Linked DNA regions of Homo sapiens: regions 1 and 2 are each linked to region 3. The links are contacts of gene promoters, found by promoter capture Hi-C in blood cells and fetal thymus (Javierre and others, 2016). All regions are on one chromosome and are shown on one strand. Each heading gives the region's core, a stretch centred on a gene start or on the middle of the fragment in contact. The rest is flanking DNA. Distances are from core to core; before and after follow the strand shown. Region 1 overlaps LINC00970 (long intergenic non-protein coding RNA 970). Region 2 overlaps NME7 (NME/NM23 family member 7). Region 3 holds the start of DPT (dermatopontin).

What was found. The method cuts DNA at HindIII sites, captures the fragments that hold promoters and counts their contacts. A CHiCAGO score of 5 or more calls a contact.
Region 1: a contact is called between a fragment that was not itself captured here and the fragment with the promoter of DPT in region 3, in 1 of 17 cell types (M2 macrophages). The highest score is 5.4, in M2 macrophages.
Region 2: a fragment that was not itself captured here is called in contact with the fragment with the promoter of DPT in region 3 in 1 of 17 cell types (M1 macrophages); the score reaches 5.0 in M1 macrophages.

The regions. Positions count from the first base shown.
Region 1 is chr1:169,033,894-169,038,347 of GRCh38, reverse strand. The region is part of intron 3 of LINC00970 (long intergenic non-protein coding RNA 970); the gene reads left to right. Among named protein-coding and RNA genes, the nearest start is that of LINC00970, 51 kb to the left of the region's middle. The HindIII fragment of the contact is 838 bases long and covers 1,732-2,569 here.
Region 2 is chr1:169,203,799-169,208,432 of GRCh38, reverse strand. All of the region lies in intron 10 of NME7 (NME/NM23 family member 7), which reads left to right. Among named protein-coding and RNA genes, the nearest start is that of ATP1B1, 99 kb to the right of the region's middle. The HindIII fragment of the contact is 2,815 bases long and covers 740-3,554 here.
Region 3 is chr1:168,727,430-168,731,922 of GRCh38, reverse strand. It overlaps DPT (dermatopontin), which reads left to right and starts at 2,717. Exons shown (of 4, transcript NM_001937.5): 1 at 2,717-3,053. The coding sequence starts at 2,749. The HindIII fragment of the contact is 3,243 bases long and covers 113-3,355 here.

The sequences.
Region 1 (4,454 bases), core at 901-3,400, 310 kb before region 3:
TTTCCACCCTTTCACTTTTAGTCTATGTGTGCCTTTATGAGTGAAATGGATCTCTTGTAGGGCAGCATATAGTTAGGTCTTGTTTCTTCATCCATTCAGCCATTCTGTGCCTTTTAATTGGAGAATTGAGTCCATTTACATTCAGTGTCATTATTGATAAGTAAGGACTTACTACTGCCATTTTGTTTCTTGTTTTCTGATTGTCTTGTAAGTCCTCTCTTCCTTTCTTACTGTCTTCCTTTGTGGTTAAATGATTTTCTCTGGTAGCATGTTTTAATTCATTGCTTTTTATTTTTAGTGAATCTATTATAGGTTTTTGCGTTGTGATTACCATGAGGTTTACATAAACATGTTATAGATATAACAAGTTATTTTAAAGACGTATCAACTTATTAGATCACAAATACAAGAATAGAAACAAACAAAGGCAAGACAAGCACACAAAAATTCTACACTTTAACTCCATCCTCCCATATTTTGACTTTTGGTTGTCTCAATTTACATATTTTTATATTACTTATTTGTTAATGAGTTGTAGCAATTATTGTTCTGGTAGATTTGTCTTTTGGGCTTAACACTAGAGTTATGAGTGGATTGTACACCATAATTACAGTAACAGAGTATTATGAGTTTGTCCATGTACTTAATTTTACCTGTGGGTTTTATAGCTTGAAAAGTGAAGAACTCCTTTTAGCATTTCTTTTACTATGAGTCTGGTGGTAGTGAATTTTCTTAGCTTTTATTTGTCTGGGAAAGACTTTCTCTCCTTTCATATTTGAAGGATAACTTTGCTGAGTACAGTATTATCGTAAAGCAGTTCTTTTATTTCAGCATTTTGAAAATGTTGTTTCACTCCCTACTAGCCTGTATGGTTTCTGGTGAGAAGTCTGTTGCTGGAAAAACTGGAGCTCCTTGTATGTAACTTGCTTCTTTTTTCTTGCTGCTTTTAGAATCCTCTTTGTCTTTGACCTTTGAGAGTTTAATTATTATATGCCTTGGGGTAGTCTTATTTGGTTTGAATCTGTATTCTCAGACCTTCTTGTGCCTGGATATTTGTATCTTTCTAAAGTTTGGGGGAAGTTTTTTGTTATTCTTTTTTTAAATAAATGTTCTAGTCCTTGCTCTTGCTTAGTTCCTTCTTGAACACCAATAATTCTTAGATTTGATTTTTTGAGGAGATTTTCTATATCTTATAGGTAGTCTTCATTCTTTTTTCTTTTTTCTCCTCTGATTGTGTATTTTCAAATAGGTGGTCTTTAAGTTTACTGATTTTTTCCTCTGCTTGGTCTGCTTTTCTGTTGAGAGCCTCTAATGAGTTCTTTATTTCTATAAATGTATTTCTCAGTTCCAAGATATCTGTTTGACTTTTTATTATTTCAATCTCTTAGTTAAATTTCTCTGATAAATTTCTGAATTGCTTTTCTGCATTTTCTTGGAGATCATTGAGTTTCCTTAGACCTGCTACTTTGAATTCTTGTTCAGAGAGCTCACAAATTGCCATCTCATTAGGGTTAGCCATTGAATTTTTGTTTTTTCCTTTAGAGGATGTCATGGTGCCCTGTTTGTTGTTGTTCCTTATGGGTATACATCTTTGTGTTTGCATTGAAAGGTTTAGTTACTTATTCCAGTTTTCTCTGTCTGGGCTGTATTGGTTTTTATTGCATATTTTGCTTAGCAAATCTTTACCATTAGGTCAGATTTCAGCTCTAGTTGATGTCTTAACTCCAAGCTTATCTTGGCTCAAGTAAATGATTAGAGCACTATTCTTCCCGAATTGGGACAATCCAAATGGGGATATCCCAGCATTGTGGCAAGACTGGCTAGGGGTTAGTGCCCAGGAGACCTATAAGATGAATCTTCTACAGCACTGTGCTGCTGAACAGTCACTCTGATTTGGCTTTTCCTTTGGCTGAGTTACACAGTAGAGTTTCCGGGGCTGGGGATGATAGTTCCACCTTCCCCCATTGTCTCTGCCTCTGATTGTCCTCAGGGATATTTATTCCTTCAGGCACTAGCAATGCTTCCCGTGGGTTAAAGCAGGTACGGGTCTCCTGCCAGGGAACCCAAGACGGTGAGGAGGCTGGTTATTCACCTTGATCTCACTTTTTTACAGTGTAGAAACAGTGAGTTGGTAGAGAATTTTCTGTGTGCTTGATGGTAGAATTGGGAATAGAATGGGAGGAATGGCATCATGAATGTGGAAGTCTGATTCTCTTACTGTCTGCTCAGAGTTTTTTCCACTTCTCTGTGGCCCTGGGAACTGTCTCTTCTTCATATTTGAGTTCGGGGATATTTCTAGTGATACTCTTAGTGCTGTATATTTGTTTTTGGTTTTCTGTGGGGATGAGTAAAGCCAGCTTGCTTCTTTGCTGCCATTTTTGGAACCAGAGTTCAGTGCCAATATTCACTTAGAAAATTATTTACTAATAAATGTGACATAATTTATTCATTAGTGGCAAATGTGTATTTTGTGTTTTTGTCAGTAGCAGTTAATTTTGGGAGGAAAAGCTCCTTCGGAAACTTAGATGTTCAAATGAATGTGGATACTACTATTTAAGGTATAGAAGCTTGCCTGTAGTTTACTAGCTAGCTTCTCAAGCTGTGATTTTAAATCTTTTTCTATTAAGCCATGGATTTTTTTTCAAATAATATTATACACAGAATCCCAACATAGATCAGATAAATCAGAGAAGCGGTGGTCCTTCCTGAGGAGTACCCACAGGCCTATGGCCACAGTTTACTTTTTGAAAAATTAGTTACCTCACAAAAAAATATGTAAAGAAGTAAAAATAAAGAAAAATCATTGACTTTGACAAACAGGTTAAACTATCTGCTAAAATAGCTCTGGATTCTTAGTTTCTACTTTCCACTATTTATGCCCACATAATTATGTGAGCCCAGGTCCTTGAAAAACCAGGTCTCTGAGAAACAAAAAAAGAAATTGAACCTGATATGCTGTACCGCATCTCTTTAATTCATTTCAACATTCCTAATTTGTCAGTCTCAATGAAACAACATAGTGTCCATTAGCCAAAGTCAGAGGTAGGGAAATTTGAGACTTTAAAATAAACCTCACTCCCATTAGGCCACTTTTTGTTTTCATGGGGAATGCAGCTCTCTTCACTGCCAATCTGGGTACTTCCGCATAAAAGGGCTGGGAGGCTCTGCCTTAGGTCACTCTAGAGCCAGGGGTTCATGTTCAGAATCCACAACCAGTGGTCTTTCCACTGCGCAACATCATTTCTTGGTCAATGGTTGATGGCTGCTCCATCATAGAGGGCCTTCCTCTTCTCCTCAGCCTGGCCAAAATAGTTTGATTTTTCATTTCAGACTCAAATCTAGTTTCATTTCTCTCAGAAGCCACCCTTGGTTGCCTCTTTGCCTATGATTTTTTTGTTCTTTGATGTTAGAACTGACACTTGAATACCTTTTCCTATTTATCTACCTCATTCCTTATGGGCTATACTGTATCTCAGCATAATTTTTCTGGTTACATGCTAGATTTTTATGTTTGTATTATATTTTGATGTTGAAAACAATGTGGTAGTGAATATCATGATACTTTTCTCTTGGCACATTTGTCTCAATAGATGGGTTAATTCCTACTACTAAAGCTGCTTGGTTAAAAGGCATACACATTACATGTTTTTGATAGCTATTACTAATTATGTGAGTGTGACTTTCTGCACACCCTCACCAACATTGGGTATCATAAATATTTATGTAGAATTTATTTGGTTTACATGTGTTAGGTTAAGTATATAGTTAGTGAGACACTTAATAAATGTATGTGTGCCTGCTATAGACTGAATGCTTGTGTCCCCTCTAAAATTCATATGCTAAAATTTAATCCCCAATGTGATGGTATTCAGAGGCAGGGCCTTTGAGAGGTGATTAGATGATGAGGGTAGAGCCCTCACCCTCATGGGATTAGTGCTCTTATAAAAGAGACCCCAGCTAGATCCCTTTCCCCTTCTCCCATGTGAGGACACAATGAGAAGGTGCCATCTATGAATGAAGAAGCAAGCCCTCACCAGACACAGAAACTGCTGGAGTCTTGATCTTGAACTTCCCAGGCTCCAGAACTGTGAGAAATAAATTGATGTCGTTTAGAAGCCACCCAGTCTATGGTATTCTATTACGGCAGCCCAAACTGACTAAGACAGCACCCTTTCCTTTTTTCTCTAGAGAAAGGACTTTCTAGGTGGGGTGACATTGAACAAGAGTCATCTATCTGAGTCTCAGTTTCCTTATTTGAAAAATGGGATTAAGAATACCTCCTCATCAAGTCGTTTTAAGGATTAAATAACACAATGTAAATAAAGAACCTATCCCAATGTTTGGTAATGCCCAATAAATGGCAGGAACCTTCTCTTTGTGTTCACTGCAGTGCTTGGTACATATGGCATTCAATGAAAACAAAGTGAGGAAAATTAGTGTATGACTGTCCTACC
Region 2 (4,634 bases), core at 898-3,397, 480 kb before region 3:
CACAGTAAAGTTGGCCTGAAGTATTTTTGTCTCTGATTTATTCATTTATTCAGTCAGCCAACCCACCAACCACTAACCAACCAAACATTTACAGACTTTCAAAGTGCATATGAAGTATTAATAGTTCTTAGTACTAGCAATGAAAACATGAACAAGACACCTTTGCTGAGCCAGAGGAATTTATGTCCTAGTTGAAGAAAAGAATTGTATTGTCAATAATTGCAATAAAGTCTTATAATTGCAATAATAGACATATATTAAATGGAAAAAAATTTACGATCAAATAAGATTGAGAAATACTGGTTTAAATGAAGTTAAGCAGATTTGTGTACTAAAGGACTCTAGAACATGTCAAATGCTGACATGCATTGTGAATCTCCAAAAGAGGGCATCTGGTATGAAGTATTTTCCAATTTTGTTGCCAAAAGTTACAGATGACAACCAGGATAAGGAGAAATTCCTGACCATAATTCTTGCTAAGCTGCTTTCAGGGACCTTGAAGAGAACATAAAGAACTTTGAAACATAGCTTTTACTTTTTAGGGAAGAGAAAAAAGATAAACAGGACTCCATAAATCTAGCCTTCATTATTTTGTTTTCTTTATTTCCAGACTACTCACTCCAGCACCCTCCCTTCCCCACCGCATCAGATCTTTGCACTGATTTGGAGGCTTCTATGCTTTCCTGCTTTTGAATTTCTCATCAATGTTAGAAAGTAACATTGTCCTGTTATTAAAGCTTATTCATACTGATACACCAAAACTCATAAATACTTGCATTTTTCAGACTATTTTCTAGTTATAAGGTGAAAAAGATTGCCTTTAGTTAAAGGAATTTGGAAAAAAATCATTTTGTTTTGTTTTTCTTTGTTGTCTCTTTTTTTCCTTCTGCTTCTGTGATAGTGAAGGTGTAGTTAATTTTGATCCTCTTCCCCCTTGGGTGTACCCTGAGACTAATCCTAGAGCAAGGTTCTTATCCTGATGTCTACAGACCCCTATGGCTTTTGGGAATAGAATTCAGGGGTGCTCTAGTTTGGTTTGCTTGACTCCCCCAAATCTCATATTGAAATGTGATTCTCAGCATTGGAGGTAGGGCCTAGTGGGAGGCATTTGGGTCCTGGGGGCAGATCCCTCATGAATGGCTTGGTGGCATCCTCAGGGTAATGACTGAGTTCTCACTGTGTTAGTTTCCTTGAGAACTGTTTGTTAAAAAGAGCCTGGCATCGTTCCCTTCTTCCTCTTGCTTCCACCCTTACCCTGTGATCTCTGCATGCCACTTCCCCTTCACCTTCCACCATGAGTAGAAACAGCCTGAGGCCCTCATCAGAAGCAGATGCTGGTACCATGCTTCTGGTATAGCCTGCAGAACCATGAGCCAAATAAACCTCTTTTCCTTATAAATTACCTATCCTCAGATGTTTCTTTATAGCAATGCAAACGGACTAAGACAAGGGGTCTGTGAACTTGGATGAGAAAAAAAGAATCGTGTTTATTTTCACTAATATCTGACTGAATATTAGAATTCCATAAATATAAACAACTAATCACTGTTATAGCTATGTGTTAATATAGTAGTTAACTTAGCAACCACCAGAAATTGCAAACATTTTCACATTGCATTACAATTGTACATATCTTAAAACATCATTTACAGTCATTGCTATTTTAAAATTATAAGAGTTATTAAATCAGCTGCTACATTTTAATAAATATGTACATTATATCACAAAATATAAAATATTCTGATAATTTTATTTTAGAGTAATTAATTTCCTGCAATTCTATGTATTTTATGCATTTAAAAACATTGCTTTGAGAAGGGTTCATAGGCTCCATCAGGCTGCCAAAAGAGGTTCTTAACTTTGTCTTTGCATAAGACAAAATTATGAACCCTAGTCCTAAAGGAAGATACACAAAGGTCAAATAAGAATCCCTGGAGTTGAAGACCAAGCATTAACCCAAGACAGCTTCTTCCTTTTTATTCCTTGTCCTAGTATTAATCCTCCCTACCCTCCGTGTTCCAGGCCTCTGAGGTATTCCTCCTTGTAAGACTTGTAGCCATCCATTCTTTTTCAGTCTCTCAACATCAGCTCCAACTTCCATATAGATATTTGAATTAATTAATTAGTTAATTCATCAAATATTTTCTGGGGACTTACTACATACTAAGTACTATTCTAGATACAGTAGAAATACAGTGGCAAAAGAACAAACAATAAAATCTATCTTCACAGAGGACGTTCTAGTTGGGGGGAAACAGATCAGGAGCGGAATAAATAAGTAAAATATATAATATGATGGTAAGTGTGTAGGGGAAAATAAAGCAGGGGAGGGAAATAGGGTTTTCCAGAAAAGGGAGGGATTTATAGTTTTTAAGTAGAATGGACAGAGAAGGCTGCATTTAAAAGTTAACATTGGATACAGACTTGAAGGAGATGAGGGTGACAGTCACCTAGCAATCCAGGCTGGAGGAACAGCAAGTGCCAAAGCTGGAGTATGCTTAGTATATTGGAAGAAGTCAGGAGGACAGTGTGGCCAGAGTGGAGTGAATGTGTGAGGTGAGGTCAAAGAGATACAGGATGGGAAAGAAGATCACATAGAGCGTGGAAAGCTGCTGAAAATACTTTAGCTTTTACTCTGAGTAAGAAGGGGACCATTGCAGAGTTTGAGCAGAGGACCAACATAACCTAACATGTTTTAACACAATAATGCTGGCTTCCATGTGGTGAATAGACAAAGTGGGGCCGGAGCAGAAGCAGGAAGAATGAATAATGAATGCCAGTACTTGACATGTGGTGCTTTGCAGTGGGCTCTAGAGCCAGGCCGCCTGAGATTCTTCATCTGTAAAATATAATCTGTTTCTTCACCAATAAAACGGAAAAAGAATAAGCCGGTTGTGAGGATTATATCAGCTAATATGGGCAAACTTCTTAGAATATTCCATAAATATGGATTTTTCTTACTTTTCTCAGAGCCTAGGATACATGCTGTGAGGGTACCACACAACTATTTGACACATAATGGGCAAGATGGGAAGACTTGAATGAGTTTTGGGCAACCTTGTTCCTATGTCTTGATTTTAGGAGAGTAATTGAGGAAAGGAAGCACCAGATGTTGCCTTTAGATCTGGAACCTTATTCTTTTCATACATATATGTGATGATGGTGCTAAAGCTCAAATTACATAAGATCATGGGAAAACAATTGACACTGACTCTGATTATAGAAAGTAGTGAATTAGTAAATGAAAAAACTAAAAGTGTGGTTATAATAGTAAGTATTGTTTTTTAAGTAAACTGCAACATTACATTGTCAGTTTATCCTAAAGAACAATAACATAAGCATACTATTTTGCTAGACTAATTATTAGTGTGACAATAGTAAATATATATTTATAGGCTTCCTGCTTTGGTCTTATAGAATAATCTTATAGTTGATCAAAAAATTAGATGGAAAACTGTTTTCAGTATGAGATGTTGGGCCATCCTTGTTTTATGACCTTCAAGAAAGAAAAGAAACTTCCAATGGAATTACACCATCTGTAAAGATACTAAGCTTGCCCAAAGAACACAGATAGCAAATTTGAGAGCTTTGATAAGAGTTCAAAATTGAATAAAATTGAGTCAATAATTATTTATTGAAATGTAGTGGTAGTCAAGGCATTACTAGATTTTGCTTGCAAACTGTTGTAAGAAAAGATAAGTTTACAGACAATGGCAAAATAAATCTGACAGTAAGATAAATGCTTTAAGAGAGATACAGGTTGTGAATAAGATTTTCAAGGAAAGTGCTTACATCTCTGGAGTAAGTGCGTAAGGTTTCCGAGAGAGTGCGACATCTGAAAGAAGGTGAACCCTGTGGAATACTTAGAATTTCTATAATCTGAAATGGGAATCTGTACTTTTAAAATGAGAGATTATGTCACATAGGCATTGAGATTGCAAGGCTGAGTAATTTAGTTTGAAGCATTGGATATAGTATAATAGTAGACAATAAAGCTAGAGAGATATTAGCATCATAATGAGTCCAAGGCTGGGAATTTTGTTACTTAATAAACATGAAAAACCATTGAAGGTTACTGACAAAGTAGCACTGTCATGTGATCAAAGTAAGAGTTATGTGACAATATCTAGTATGGATTGAGTGAAAGTTTAGGAGGAGAGGCAGCCAGTACTGAGGCATTTGAGAAATAAAAATAAAATCCCAAGCTCCCTACTGACTGAACAGATCCCTCACTTGGACAAGGGGACCCCAGAGAAACCTTAAAAGCTAAATTCCCTGGCCTGGTGTGGTGACTCACTCCTGCAATCCCAGCACTTTGGGATGCTAAGGTGGGAGGACTGCTTGAAGCCAGGAGTTCAAGACAAAACTGGGCAACATTGTGAGATCTTGTCTTTTCAAAAACTGAAAAATTAACCAGGCATGGTGGTGCATACCTGTAGTCCCAGCTACTTGGGAGACTGAGGAAGGAAGATCACTTGAGTCCAGGAGGTCAAGGCTGCACTGAGCTTTGATCAAACTACTGCACTCCAGCCTGGTTGACAGAGCAAGACCCTGTCTCAAAAACAAAACACGAAAATAAACGAGTTCCCAGCCATGAGGGGATGCGGGATCAGACACATCTCATTATACCTACT
Region 3 (4,493 bases), core at 1,468-3,967:
GTGAGAAGCCTATAGGGAAGGTTTCAAAGGACGTCATTGTCAGGACCCTGCTCAGAAGCTTCTGATCTGATTGGTCCAGAAATTGCTTAGACTCTGGAGGTTTCCAAAAGCTTTCCAGGTAATCCTTAAATGCTGATAAGGTGGAGAATGATTGCTTCAGCATATCATGAATCAGAGAGATCCTTCTAAGCTAGGAAGAATTCCGATGCCAGCACTGGGCAGTTACTTACGGATGGAAGTGGTGGGAGAAGATGGTGCTAAAAACAAAACTAAGCCTCACATAGCTGTTCAGCCCAGATCCTCTCCCCCTCGCTTCAGTAACCATGATCATCAAAGAAAACTGCATGCCCAACACACACACAAACACACACACACACACACACACACACGAGTTACTTGTTGCTTTATTCTCATGTATGACTGTCTTTCCCTTTCAAGACTATCTTGGTGTTTGATCTAGACTGAATACCGTCTGGTAAATGTGCCACAGGCTAGGCAGATGGTGGGATTAATAGTGTGATTTTTCTCTGGCTCCACATTCCTTTAGGAAGGTGACTCTTAGCAATTGATGTGAATAAGAATCACCTGGAAAATTTTTTAAAATATAAATACCTGAGCACCCCTTGTGAGGTTATGATTTAGCAGGCCTGGAGAAGAGCCACTGTCTACATTTTAACAAACTTCACAGAGGCTGTAGATAGAATTGGTCTATGATCACAATTCTAAGAAACTTTAAGAACAATACTGATGAGAAATGGGAAATACTATGTGCTTAAGAGATGCCCAAAGGTTTCAAAAAATTTGAAAAGCCAAATCATCAACGGATGCATGGAATGGGTAATGAGCACATGAAAAGATGCTCAAAATCATGGATCATTAGAGAAATGAAAATCACAACCACACTGAAATATCACTACAAACCTATTTGAATAGCTAAAATTTTTTAATGGCAATTTTCTGGTAGTGGTGGGCAATGGTATCACCACTTTGGAAATCAGCTAGGTAGTTTCTTGCTTTCTTTTTTTTGTTTTTTTGAGACGGAGTCTCGCTCTGTAGCCCAGGCTGGAGTGCAGTGGCACAATCTCGGCTCACTGCAAGCTCCGCTTCTCGGGTTCACGCCATTCTCCTGTCTCAGCCTCCCGAGTAGCTGGGACTACAGGCGCCCGCCACTAAGCCTGGCTAATTTTTTGTATTTTTAGTAGAGGCGGGGTTTCACCATGTTAGCCAGGATGGTCTCGATCTCCTGACCTCGTGATCCGCCCGCCTCGGCCTCCTAAAGTGCTGGGATTACAAGCATGAGCCACCACACCCGGCCTCAGTAGTTTCTTTTAAAGTTAAACATACATTACCTTGTGAACCAGCAATCTCACTCCTAGGTATTGACCCAAATGAAATAAAAATTTGTTCACACAAAAACCTATACATAGATGTTTATATCAACTTTATAATTACATTTATGTAATTCATTATATAAAATATAATGAATATAAAATTCATTACATAAAAAGTAATGAATTTTCAAAAACTGGAAACAACCCAAATGTCTTTCAACTAGTAAATGTATAAACAATCTGTGGTACATCCATGCTATGGAATATTACTCAACAATAACAAGAAACAAAATACTAACACATACAATGAGATGTTGAATTTTAAAATGGATGAACCTTAAAAGCATTATGCTAAGTGAAAGATGGACATGAAAGGCTACGTGTGGTATGATTCCATTTACTTGACATTCTGGAAAAGGCAAAACCATAGAGACAGAAAGTAAATCAGTGGTTACCAATGGCTGGGTGTTTGGGAAGATTTGACTGCAAAGGGATATAAGGGGATGTTTTGGATTGATGGAACTGTTCTAAGTCTTGATTAGGGTGCTGGCTATGTTACTGTACATTATGTATTTTAAAAGGTGAATTAATTATATGTAAATTATAACTCAATGAAAAGAAAATTCAATGTGAGGGCAAAAATACTGAAGGATAAATAGGGGGTTTATTTAGATTAAACCCATTACATTTTGAGAGCAGAGCACACTTTCTAGACTTGACTGGGTCCAATTTCAGCAGCATGGTAGAATGCTTAAGTGTAGAAATCATATCCAACTTATCTCCCCATGGGCCCATAGTACTTCCTTATGCAACTTATGAGTTCTCAGAGTAGCCCTGCAAACTGGTATACCCGCGCTTATACTCAAGGGTTAAAAAGTGTTGGATTGACAACTTAAAAAAAAAAACAGGCATTCAGCCTTACAGAAATCCTAGATGGCTCTGTTACTTCAGTCTATGATTTCGGTATTTTGAAATCACTGTCTGGGTATTTGTGTGGCCCGGAAGGCTAGTTTGGAGAACAAATACAGGGGTTTGCTAGTAGCGGGTAGGGTAGGACAGAAAGGGGTGAGGTGCTGAAAGGTGAGGGACAAATATGCTACTAATCAGTGTTTTTCAAGTGAATATTTCTACAGGGTAGAGCAGCAGTTGGCTTTTATAATCTAGATACAAAGTTGTTCTTTCTCCAGGGAGCTTCTTAGACTTACATGCTGCTGGTATATTCCTAGAATTCCACCTTAAAACAAGCTGAATGTCCTTATGGCTGACATCTCAGCATGGAAAAGTTTTGCTTAAGCAATGACACACTGCAGTTGGATCCTTCTCACCCACATCTGGAAGCCACATGTCAGCGGCAGCTATATAAAACGGTCAGACCAGCAATCTTAGAGTGACATTGTTTGCCAAAATCCCAGGCAGCATGGACCTCAGTCTTCTCTGGGTACTTCTGCCCCTAGTCACCATGGCCTGGGGCCAGTATGGCGATTATGGATACCCATACCAGCAGTATCATGACTACAGCGATGATGGGTGGGTGAATTTGAACCGGCAAGGCTTCAGCTACCAGTGTCCCCAGGGGCAGGTGATAGTGGCCGTGAGGAGCATCTTCAGCAAGAAGGAAGGTTCTGACAGACAATGGAACTACGCCTGCATGCCCACGCCACAGAGCCTCGGGGAACCCACGGAGTGCTGGTGGGAGGAGATCAACAGGGCTGGCATGGAATGGTAAGGGCCAGTCCCTGCACTGCACTGGGGCTGGGAACATCTCTGCATATCCCTCCTCCTGGGGGCTGCTAGACTCTCAAGGAATATCAGTAACCAAAGCCTGGGCAAATCCCACCCCAAACCTCACCACTGCATGCTCTGGGTGGAGCAGGGCTGCTGCTGAGCGGACTACATGACAGGACAAAAACCTGGGATGGGGAGTGTCTGTGGGAGACAGACTCCTCTGTGGCTCTGTTCCTTCCAGAAGCTGTTCTACCTACTCTCAGTTTGGGCCAGGGGCTGGTGTAGGTCGGCGAGAAGCTTGCTTACCAGACTACCAAAAGATATGTACAGAAACTGAAAGTAATAAACTTTATAGAAATTAAAACTTTCTGTGCCATCGGAATGGCATTTTTCTTTTTTAGAAATTTATTTTTACCATTTTACAAAAGTACTGGCCCACAGTAGTTTGGGAACAAGAAAAATAAACAATTGATCTCTCAGCACGGAGGGTTTGAGAACTATTGATTTAGAGCAAGTGAATGGAAAAGAGGGGACAAGGACATTTAGGCAAAAGAAAGTGGAATTAAATAGCTGTCTACTGCCTTGATTAAATGTGCTCTCTCAATTATGAGTACTGAGGTCCTTCTCTCTGCCTGAATTTAAAGTGGGTTTTATTGCTGGAAAATAGTTTACTAAAGGGTTTTGGAGAGAGGTGCTGTCTTCCCCTGACTGCATTCTGCCTTAAGCAGTGGCATGGAATTTTTTCGAGCTTGTACTTTTTTGTGGGGTGTGATTGTCTCAGCTGGGTCTCAGCCCAGGTGCTTGGTCAGGAGCTCATCCTAGTAGGCACTGACTGCTAGGCTGATTATTTACAACAGCCTAGATGGAGCCAGCACTCTAGGAGGCTTGGAGGAGAGAACGGAGGAGGCAGTCCAGGGAGGAGGAAGCCCACCTGGAGGGCTGCTGCATGTGCTATCTGTAGAGCAACCCAGATGTGTGGCAACAAGTACTTAGTGTAGTGGGGATTGGAGGGGTCAAGCACAAAATCTGGCCAGGTGTGGTGGCTCACGCCTGTAATCCCAAACACTTTGGGAGGCTGGGGAGGGAGGATCACTTGAGATCAAGAGTTCGAGACCAGCCTAGGGAACACAGCCAGACCCTATCTCTACAGAAAAAAAAAAATTAGCCCGGTGTAGTTGCATGCAGCCTGTGGTCCCAGCTACTCAGGAGGCTAAGGTAGGAGGATCACTTGAGCCCAGGGAGTCGAGGCTGCAGTGAGCCATGCTCGCACCACTGTATTCCCTCCTGGGTGGCAGAGCAAGACTCTGCCTCAAAAAAAAAAAAAAAAGAAAATAGAAAAAAGAAAAAGCATAGAACCCTGGGGGACACAACCAGTAGAGAGGTGATGATGGGAAATCCAAGAGGAAGAAACACCGATGGGTGGGGGAGCCAGGAAAG